Regions from separate parts of the Homo sapiens genome. Here all the other regions are linked to region 2. Evidence: promoter capture Hi-C in human tissues and cell types (Jung and others, 2019). All regions are on one chromosome and are shown on one strand. Each heading gives the region's core, a stretch centred on a gene start or on the middle of the fragment in contact. The rest is flanking DNA. Distances are from core to core; before and after follow the strand shown.

What was found. The method cuts DNA at HindIII sites, captures the fragments that hold promoters and counts their contacts. A contact is called where the count stands out against the background at its distance.
Region 1: a fragment that was not itself captured here is called in contact with the fragment with the promoter of CRABP1 in region 2 in 3 of the 25 tissues and cell types used here (IMR-90 fibroblasts, dorsolateral prefrontal cortex and lymphoblastoid cells).
Region 3: a fragment that was not itself captured here is called in contact with the fragment with the promoter of CRABP1 in region 2 in 3 of the 25 tissues and cell types used here (dorsolateral prefrontal cortex, lymphoblastoid cells and neural progenitor cells).

What each region holds. Positions count from the first base shown.
Region 1 is chr15:78,253,915-78,257,353 of GRCh38, forward strand. It overlaps DNAJA4-DT (DNAJA4 divergent transcript), which reads right to left. Exons shown (of 4, transcript XR_001751621.1): 4 at 529-693. Among named protein-coding and RNA genes, the nearest start is that of DNAJA4-DT, 8.5 kb to the right of the region's middle. The HindIII fragment of the contact is 4,200 bases long and covers 1-3,439 here.
Region 2 is chr15:78,338,486-78,341,795 of GRCh38, forward strand. CRABP1 (cellular retinoic acid binding protein 1) reads left to right here and starts at 1,868. Exons shown (of 4, transcript NM_004378.3): 1 at 1,868-2,013; 2 at 2,558-2,736. The coding sequence starts at 1,944. RefSeq lists an enhancer at 1,418-2,046. The HindIII fragment of the contact is 13,960 bases long and covers 1-3,310 here.
Region 3 is chr15:78,430,830-78,434,378 of GRCh38, forward strand. No RefSeq gene overlaps it. Among named protein-coding and RNA genes, the nearest start is that of IREB2, 5.6 kb to the right of the region's middle. The HindIII fragment of the contact is 5,689 bases long and covers 1-3,549 here.

The DNA.
Region 1 (3,439 bases), core at 595-3,094, 85 kb before region 2:
TAACAAAGTGACTCTTCATGGGCTCCTGAATTGCCTCAAGATGACAGCTGGTTGCCAGGAGAACCAACCGTGCGATTAAAGAATGGAACTCGGCCAGTGTGGTGGCCCATTCCTATAATCCCAGCATTTTAGGAGGCTGAGGTGGGAGGATTGCTTGAGCACAGGAGTTCAAGACCAGCCTGGGCAACATAGTGAGTGAGACTTTATCTCTACTAAAAATAAAAAATTGGCTGCGTATGGTGGCATGAACTTGTAGTCCCAGCTACTCAGGAGGCTGAGGCAGGAGGATCACTTGAACCCGGGAGTTTGAGGTTGCAGTAAACTATGATTGAGCCACTGCACTCAAGTCTGGACAATATAGCAAGACTCTGTCTCTCTCAAAAAAAAAAAAAAAAAAAAAAAAAAAAGGAACTCCCAGCCCTGCCTCCCTGACCACCCTGGTGGAGGGCAGAAGGGCTGGAGATTGAGTTAATCACTGAGGCCAATGATGTAATCCATCATACCTATGTAATGAAGCCTCCATAACAGTTCAAATGGACAGGGTTCGGAAGAGCTTCCAGACAGCTGAACATGTGGAGGTTCCTGGAGGGTGGTGCATGCAGGGAGGGCATGGAAGCTCTGCTCCCCTCCCCACAGGCCTCGCTCCGTGCATCTTTTCCACGAATGCTGTTCATCTGCATTCTTCGTAACAGCCTGTATAATAAACTGGTAAACATAACTAAAGTGTTTCCGGAGTTCTATGAACTGCTCTAGCAAATTAATTGAACCCAAGGAGGGGGTTGTGGAAACCCCAATTCATAGCTGGCCAGAGGCACAGGTTGTGATTGGCATCTAAAGTGGGAGGGCATCTAAAGTCTTGCGATACTGACCTGTGGGGTCTGAGGCTATCTCCAGGTAGACAGTGTCAGAATTGAGTTAGAGGACACCCAGCTGATGTCCACTGCAGAACAGCTTGCTTGGTTGTCAGTGAGGCAAGACCTCACACAGCAGTAACACAGACACCTATTCTGTGACCCGGTAAATCCACTCTCAGGTATGAGAGTGGATGAGAAATGAAACCACACATTCACACAAAGATTCATGCAAGCAGCTTTATACATGGTAGACTGAAACAGTAAGCAACCCAAATGCCCATCATCAGGATAATGAATAAACACATCGTGGTATATCCATGCAATAGAATATTTCTCATCAGGACAAATGGACTAATGAGACAGACATGTAGGGCCATGGACAAATCTCAAAAAGGTGTAATGAATAAAAGAAACCAGACTAAAAACATCTCCTACCATATGGTTCCATTTATACGGAACTCAAGAATAGACAAATATAGTCTGTGGTGACAGAACTCAAAAGAATGCGGAAACTTTCAGGGGTGACAGAAGTACCTATATCTTGATCCAGGTGGTCACATAGGTCTACACATGTGAGCAGCCCACTTAAGCTTTGTGCATTTTACTGTATGTGATTTATATATAAAGTATTATGAAAATTTAAAAATTAATATAGGTGGTCCCCTTTCAGGTTACAATGGTCCCTTTCTGTGAATGCTTACCTGTCCCAGGCCTGGCTCCCCAGGTCTGCCCTCTGGTTCCTGGGTGTGTAGGAGGATTGACTGTTTCTTCCTGGATGCTGGACCACCCAAGGTGGGGACACCTGTCACCCAGTCCCAGCTGGTCCTGATGGCCTGCTCTGTGAGGCCTGCAGCAGGTGAACATGGGGCATTCTTTCTCTCCACTGTACAGGGACCCATGATTCCCTTATTGATTCAGCTGTTCCTCGGTCCTCATTGGCAAAGAATGGTATCATGTATTATTGTCTTAATTGGCATTTCTTGGATTAGTAGTGATAGTAGTGAGGCTGAGCTTCTAAAATATGGTTACTGGACATCTTTATCTATTTATTCAGAGCCTGACTTTATTTATTTATTTATTTATTTATTTATTTATTTATTTTTTGAGACAAGTTCTCACTCTGTTGCTCAGGCTGGAGTGCAGTGGTACATTCAGGGCTCACTGCAGCCTCAACCTCCCCAGCTCACTCAAGCAATCCTCCCACCTCAGCCTCCCAAGTAGCTGAAACTGCAGGTGCACACCACCACATCTGGGTAATTTTTTTCTATTTTTGTAGAGATAGGGTGTCACTATGCTGCCCGGGCTGGTCTCAAACTCCTGGACTCAAGCAATCCTCCTGCCTTGACCTCCCAAAGTGCTGGGATTATAGGTGACAGCCACCATGCCTGGCCAGAGCCTGACATTTTCTAGGGCCTGGTTCCACATAATGGTTAACAGCGAAAAAGAAAGGAAAGATGTATTTTTGCCAAGCAAGCATTTCTGAAGGATATATATATTTTTTGCAACAAGATTCTGTTCTTCTTTCTTCTGTGCCTTTCCCAGGAGGGAGTATCTTTTTGAGGGGTAATTTTTTGTGACAACAACGACAGTAACAATAAAAAATGGAACCATCTGCTCATCCAGACTCAGTAAAATTGGCTTGAATGCCTCAAATTTGACAGCCCACAGCACTCCAAAGCTTTCCTCACAATCCTGTGCATTCTCTGGGGCAGAGGGTTCCATGGCCCCCTCTGCAGGTGTTCACCCCCTCCTTCCACGTTCACTCTACCCTGCACACACACCCACACACACAAGCACCAAATATTTGTGAGTTTAGCAGACTGAAGATGGGCTGGGGTGGTGAGGAGACAGGAGGGCCTAGCAGGCTCACCTGATTCAAACCTATCTTCATCCTGCAGGCTCTTCTCTCTTCCCTCTCCCTCCTTTTCTTTTCTTTTTTTTTTTTTTTTTTTGAGACGGGGTCTTGCTCTGTGGCCCAGGTTGGAGTGCAATGGTGCTATCTCGGCTCACTGCAACCTCTGCCTCCCGGGTTCAAGTGATTCTTCTACCTCAGCCTCCTGAGTAGCTGGGATTACAGGTGTGCACCACCACACCCAGCTAATTTTTGTATTTTTAGTGGAGACAGGGTTTCGCCAGGTTGGCCAAGCTGGTCTCGAACTCCTGACCTCAGGTGATCTGCCTGACTTGGGCTCCCAAAGTGCTGGAATTACAGGCATGAGCTACCACGCCCAGCCCCCTCTCCCTCCTTGCTTCTTATTTTTCTCCCTCTTGAGAGCCTAACAAATTCCTTTCCCATGTCATGCCAGGAAGTTTTGCCATTATCTTTTAAGACCCTGGCCTTAGAATCTCAAATACCTTATCAATGTATTTTTTCCAAAGATAGTTCCCATTCTAAGAACAATTGAATGCCAGCTACTTAGAAGCACATTTAAAAATGTGACTCCACCATCATCATAATAGAATTGCAGTGTTTTTCTGCTTCTGAACAGATTTCAGGCTACTTCTCTCAACCTTCCAAGCTGGTGAACAGCACCACACTACTCTGACAGTGCAAACAGCGCTCTGAGGACTTGGAGCCAAGAAGG
Region 2 (3,310 bases), core at 618-3,117:
GGATCACGAGGTCAGGAGATCGAGACTATCCTGGCTAACACAGTGAAACCCTGTCTCTACTAAAAATACAAAAAATTAGCTGGGCATAGTAGCACACACCTGTAGTCCCAGCTACTTGGGAGGCTGAGCCAGGAGAATCATTTAAACCCAGGAGGCAGAGGTTGCAGTGAGCCAAGATTGCGCCACTGCACTCCAGCTCGGGCAACAGAGCGAGACTCTGTCTCAAAACAAACAAACAAACAAAAAGTATTCTGACGTTCAAGCTGGCAATAGCAGAGCATTCCTGCTTTTCCATTTTCCAATCTAACTATCAGGCCCTTCTAAGTGCATGGCCCTGTGTGACTGCACAGACGGCACGTCCAGAATGCCGGCCCTGCCCATGCCCCTTTCCAGCTGGTGATGGCCCCACTCCCCTCTCCTGTCCTCAGCTGCTTTCTTAGACAGATCCTCGGAGCCTCCTGGCAGCAACCCAGCCCCAGCCACCTCCAGAAGTTTCCAGGGCCCTGTTCAGTAGGCACTCAGCACAGATTCCCCAAGGTCCTGGGGGAATCTTCACCCCAGGCCACCACTCACATCCTCCTCAAATCAATGCACAGTTATCGAGCCCCACCTGGCTAAGCCTTAGGAAGGGAGGACAAGTGGATAAACGATCACTGCCCTCCAGGAGTTCAGTTTATAGCAGAGCGAAGACTTGAACAAGAGCAGGACCGGACAAGAATCCTGTCAATTCAGAGAAAAATAATCACAGTTTATTAGGAAACTGAATTTCACAAAAGAGAGAGCATAAAGATGGGCTTTCGTGAATGGGCAAGATTTGATTAACCCGATGAGGAAAGGGGCATTCAAGGAAGAAGCCATGGCATGGGCAAAAACTTAGAGATAATAAAATGCATGGCACGTTCTAGAATCCTGAATTGTACAGTTTGGCTGAGGTGTGCAGATGGTAAAATAGTGGGAAAAAGCTGGAAGGAAAATGTACAGAGAAGAGCTACAAGGGTAATAGTGAAGTGTTTGTACTCCCTTAGTGGAAACACCGAGGGGACTTTAGGTCGTGATGTTTAGGTTATTTGGGAGCAAAGGGAGAAGACTTCCTCCCCTTGGCCCTCACAGCCTGCCCGAAGAGTGCAAAGCCTCACGCTTTTGCAAAACAGGCCGCACCTAGCCCAGATTCTGGAGCTGATTCAGTCCATGCCTCTCGACCCACAGTTTGTCCTGAGCCCTGACAAAGGTCTGGCCCCCTCCTGCACTCGGAACGCGGAGGACCCGCAGCTCGTGGATTCGCGCCTCAGTGCCCAAGCTGGTGTTGATGGGGGTTGCGGTTTCCTGCCACTCACTCCCCATGGGTCCTGTGGGGGGCGTGGGGATGCGGGGAGAGGGTTTCAGAATAGGATCCCGGACTGGGAGGGAAGGGACACCATCTGGGCACACCCAGTAGGTACGACCGGAGGTGAAAAAAGAGTGGGTCCCATCCCCTGATGGCCCCGCTCGCTATCCACTTTAAGTTTATGTTATGGATATTTTCAAACATATTCAAAAGTAGAGAGAAAAGTAGAATCATAACCCAAGTCCACACCGCCCAGCTTCAACAGTTATCCCCTCCAAGCCCATCTTGTTTCAGCTAACCCTCTCCCACCACCCATTTTAAAGCGGGATGTGGGTGTCCTGAGGGAGGTGGAGGCTCCCCAGTTGGAGAGCGGGTGCCCGCACCTCTGGAGGCTGAGGCACAACTGGGCTGGGAGTTGAGCGCATACCGAGTAGGGGCTGCGGGGGAGCGGGGGCAGGGCCGGCGGGGCGGGGCCAGAAGCCCGGCGGGGTTGGGGGCGCTCTCCTAGTGACTCAAGGCGCGCAGCGCTGGGCGCAAAGCGCCAGTCTCCGCCTTGCGAGCTCAGAGTGTGCCCGCTGCGCCGCCGCTGTCCGTACCTGCCGCCGCCGCCACCGCCACCATGCCCAACTTCGCCGGCACCTGGAAGATGCGCAGCAGCGAGAATTTCGACGAGCTGCTCAAGGCACTGGGTAAGCTGGTGCAGAGGGCGCGCCCCGACGGGGAGATGCGGCCCGGAGGTGCCCTGGTCCCGGAAGTGCCCCGGTCCTGGAGGGGGTGGAAGTTGGGGAGCCCAGGCAGGAGGGAGTCCCCGGGGCAATAGATCGCCTTGTCTCCCAGGCGCACCGGGTCTCGGAGAAGCTGGTAGAGATCCCGGAACCCACGCGTTCAGCGAACGTTTGCTGAATGTTTGGCGCCCTCCTCGATGGTGCGGACTTTATCTCGTGCTAGATCATAGCGAGGAGAGATTACTGGAGAGCAAGGAGGATCAGGGACTTAAATTTGGAGACTCAAATTTGGGACCAGGCTCTGCCACGAATTCACTGTGCAACTCGAGGAAAGTCACTTACCCTCTCTGTGCCTCAGTCTCTCATCTCGAAAACAAGGGCGAGGGCAGGGAAACGAGTGGATCAATTTTAAGGCCCCTTTCTAAAGTTAGGGTATGACCAGTGCCCGACCGGTCCCGAGACTGGCGGCGAGGCCCCGTGACCCAAGCCTGTGGTGCACCCTGCGCAGGTGTGAACGCCATGCTGAGGAAAGTGGCCGTAGCGGCTGCGTCCAAGCCGCACGTGGAGATCCGCCAGGACGGGGATCAGTTCTACATCAAGACATCCACCACGGTGCGCACCACTGAGATCAACTTCAAGGTCGGAGAAGGCTTTGAGGAGGAGACCGTGGACGGACGCAAGTGCAGGGTGAGGCCCCAGAGCCACTACAGCGTCCCCGTGTCCCCGCTCGGTGCCCATGGCCCACTGCTGCTGGAGGAACCTGTGTCTCCCTTTGCAGCCTGTGGCGCGCCTTCCTTGCAGGGTGTGTACACTGGCTGTTTGCAGAGGGGGTTTGTGCATCCTAGTTGCCCCTGGCTCAAGACAAAGTATTACCTTCATTCCATCTCAACCCCATCCCTACGCTGCCTCCCGGGGTGCTAACAGCCGCGCTTAAAGAGCGGGCTCTGGGTTGCGCCGCGTTCCCAGCAGTGGCTTTTGCAGCGGTTTGCAGCGCCAAGCGCAGGCGGCGCAGGAGGAGGAGGAGGTTGCAGGAGCCGCCAGGTTCTCTGTCGCAGGTGAAGCCGCAGCTCTTGCATTCCTTTCCCGCCGTATCCCCCGCGCCCGCCCGGGTCCCTGGGCCGCCTGGGTACGCTCTGGATACAGTTTTAGCAGTCCCGATGGCCCCGTCACCTCTCCCTTCCCGCCTTCGGCCTGGTTCCTTAAAGGAACGGCGGAGTCTTTCCAAAAGCAAGGCAGGTTCTGGCTGGGAAAATGGACTAGT
Region 3 (3,549 bases), core at 307-2,806, 92 kb after region 2:
GCCTGATAGATTCATTCAGGTCGGCATAGCCACACAGCAGAATTGGGGCAAGGCTGGGATTGAAACCCAGGACTCCTGACTGCTCTGCTGCACTGTCTTCATTGTACCTTGGGTCTTCCAAAAAGGTATTTGTATTCACTTCCTAGGCCTGCCGTCACAAACTACTCAAACTGGGAGACTTAAACAACAGAAATTTATTGCCTAACAGTTCTGGAGGCTGGAAGTCAGAAATGAAGGTGGTGGCAGGGTTGAATCCTTCTAGGAGTTGTGGGAAAAATTTGCTTCAGGCCTCTCTTCCTGGCTTGTAGACCTGTCAGCCCTATCTCCATCTTCATGATCCCACAGCGTTTCTCTCTGCGTGCTGACTTTCTTCACATGGGCTTTCCCCTGTGTGTCTATGTGCCTGTTTTCTCTTCTTAGGAGAACACCAGTCATTGGATTAGGACCAACCTTACTCCAGTATGATTTCGTCTTAACTAATTACATCGGCAATGACTTTATTTCCAAATAAGGTCACATACACAGGTATTAGGAATTAAGACTTCAACATATGAATTTTGTGGGGGCACAATTCAAACCATAACAACAGTACATTTGAAATTTATGTTTCCATGTCATTTTACTGATGGCAGTTCTGCATTTTCCCTTAGAAAACGGAATTAGGGTCCAAGGAATAAGGGTCTTTTCCATTTCCATATCTTGACACAGTTCCAAGGACAGTGTTCTGCTCTATAAGCCTGCATCAACATTCTTAATCACCTGCTGGCAACAGACAGGGATTTCGGTGAGCTTCTAAAAACTTTTAATATGTGGGCTGGGTGCGGTGGCTCACACCTGTAATCCCAGCACATTGGGAGTCTGAGGCGGGAGGATCACTTGTGGTCAGGAGTTCAAGACCAACCCAGCAAATATGGTGAAACCCTGTCTCTACAACAATAAAACAATTAGCCAGGCATGGTGGCACACACCTGCAAATCCAGCTACTTGGGAGGCTGAGGCAGGAGAATTGCTTGAACCCGGGAGGTGGATGGTGGAAGTGAGCTGAGTTCACACCACTGTACTCCAGCCTGGGCAACAGAGCAAGACTCCATCTCAAAAACAAACAAACAAACAAAACAACAACAACAACAAAACCTTTTAATGTGTGGTCTACTCTCATTGGTGAAGAGAAAAAACTCTTATCTGCATTCCTCTTGACTTGATAGGCAGAACATACAGTTACCTGCTTTGGATGAGCAATGGTTCCCTTTAATTTCATATGCCAAGGGCTGGCAGCCAACTGCTCTCCTCTTACCCACGATCAGGCTCAGCAGTGGCTACAAAGGTCAGCCACAGAATGGCAGGAGATCTTGTTTATCATGCTTTTGATTCTTGAAGATAAGACATTTATTTTGGAACTATCAATAACCAAACAGACTTTCTCTGTGTAGAACTAAAACATAGATTGAAAGAACAGAGCATCACTGAGGACTTAGCTACTAAGAGATCATACTGAGATTTAGAAAGGCCATGGGAGCCTCCAACTCACCCCCTGTAATAACTGAGACCATGTCTAACCACAGAGGTGTGGGTGGGTGAAAATATGGGCTCTAGAGTGTCATGGAGGCCAGCCACAGTGGCTCATGCCTGTAATCCCAGCATTTTGGGAGGCTGAGGTGGGAGGATCACTTGAGCCCAGGAGTTCAAGACCAGTCTTGACAGCATAGGGAGACCCCGTCTCTACAAAAAATTTAAAAGTTAGTCAGGTGTGGTGGCACATGCCTCTAGTCCCAGCTACTTGCAGGGCTGAGATGGGGGGATCGCTTGAGCCCAGGTAGTCAAGGCTGCAGTCAGCTGTGATTGTGTCACTGCACTCTAGCCTCAGTAACAGCAAGACCCTGTCTCAAAAGAAGAAAAAAAAATAGAGTCTCATGGACCTGGGCTTAAAACTCTGCTCTGATTTTAAGTTAAGTGATGGCTCCATTCCCAAAAAAAAAAAAAAAAAAAAAAAAAAGAGGAACTAAGTAAAGGCAGGTGCCTCCTGATATGATGCACCAAAAAGAACACAACATGACTTATGTAGCATACCTACCAAAAATGCATAATTAAATGTAATCATGAAGAAACAGTCAGGCTAGCCTAAATTAAAGGACATTCCACAATACAATGGGCCAATACTCTTTAAAAATGTCAATACCATAAGAGAAAATGAAACGCTAAGGAACTGTTCCAAATTAGAGAAAACTAAACAGATACGACATCTAAATCCAATGCTTTATCCTGGATAGCATTTTGGATTGGAGAAGAGTTTCTAGAAAGAACAATATTGGGACAATTGACAAAATTTAAATATGGATTGTAAACTGTGTCAATGTTTGAATATGGATTATTAATAACATTTGATGATTCAAGTTCATAAAATTTGGATATGAATTGTATTGATACAATTGATTGTGTTGTATCAATTACATTTCCTGAATTTGATCATTTTTAGTAGATACATGATAAAGTACTCAGGACTGAAGGGTCATAATCTCTAAAATTTACTCTGAAATGGTACCAAAAAAATGAGAATAAGAAATAGCCAGGTGCAGTGGCACACATCTGTAGCCCCAGCTACTTGGGAGGCTGAGGTAGGAGGATTGATTGAATCCAGGAGTTGGAGGCTACAGTGCACTATGATCTTGCTGTGAATACCTACTGCACTCCAGACCAGGCAACACAGTGAGACTGTGTCTCAAAAAAAGAAAAAGAATAAGAAATAATGAGGATCTTATCTCTGAAATAGCAGAGAGGGAGAGAGAGACAAGGCAAATGTGGCAAAATGTTAACAGTAAATAAATAAACCTAATTAAGGTATATATGAAGTTTTATTATAATTATCTTGCAATTCTTCTGTATTCTTGAATTTTGTTTTTCGAAATAAAATGTTTAATTTAAAAAGTAGAGATGGGCCAGGTGCAGTGGCTCATACCTGTAATCCCAGCACTTTGGGAGGCCAAGGTGGGCAGACAGCTTGAGTACAGAAGTCGAGACCAGCCTAAGGAACATAGGAAAACCCTGTCTCTACAAAAAATACCAAAATTAGCTGGGCATGGTGGCGTGCGCCTGTGGTCCCAGGAACTCAGGGGCTGAGGTGGGAGAATTACTTGAGCCCAGGAGATGGAGGTTGCAGTGAGTCGAGATCACCCCACTGCACTCCAACCTGGGCAACACAGTGAGACTCTCTCTCAAAAAAAAAAAAGGAGAGGTGAACCAGCCTGGACATTGCCCGAGACACTGATCTAAAAGGGTGCTAAAATCTCACTGGAAATGTAACTTGAAAAAAAATGTATAGTGAAAACATACCATAAGCTTCCATTTGCATAGCATTCAAAATAGGGTGTAGGGGATGAGGAAATGGCAGCCTAGGAGGAAAACAGCTGCGGTTATAAAACGGCAACAGGAAGGATCCTTGGAAATGTTCCATATCTTGACTGTAGTGATGGCCACACAAAGCCACACACGTGAACTAAATACACACGTGCATGTGCGCGCACACACACACACACACACACACACCCTACAAAG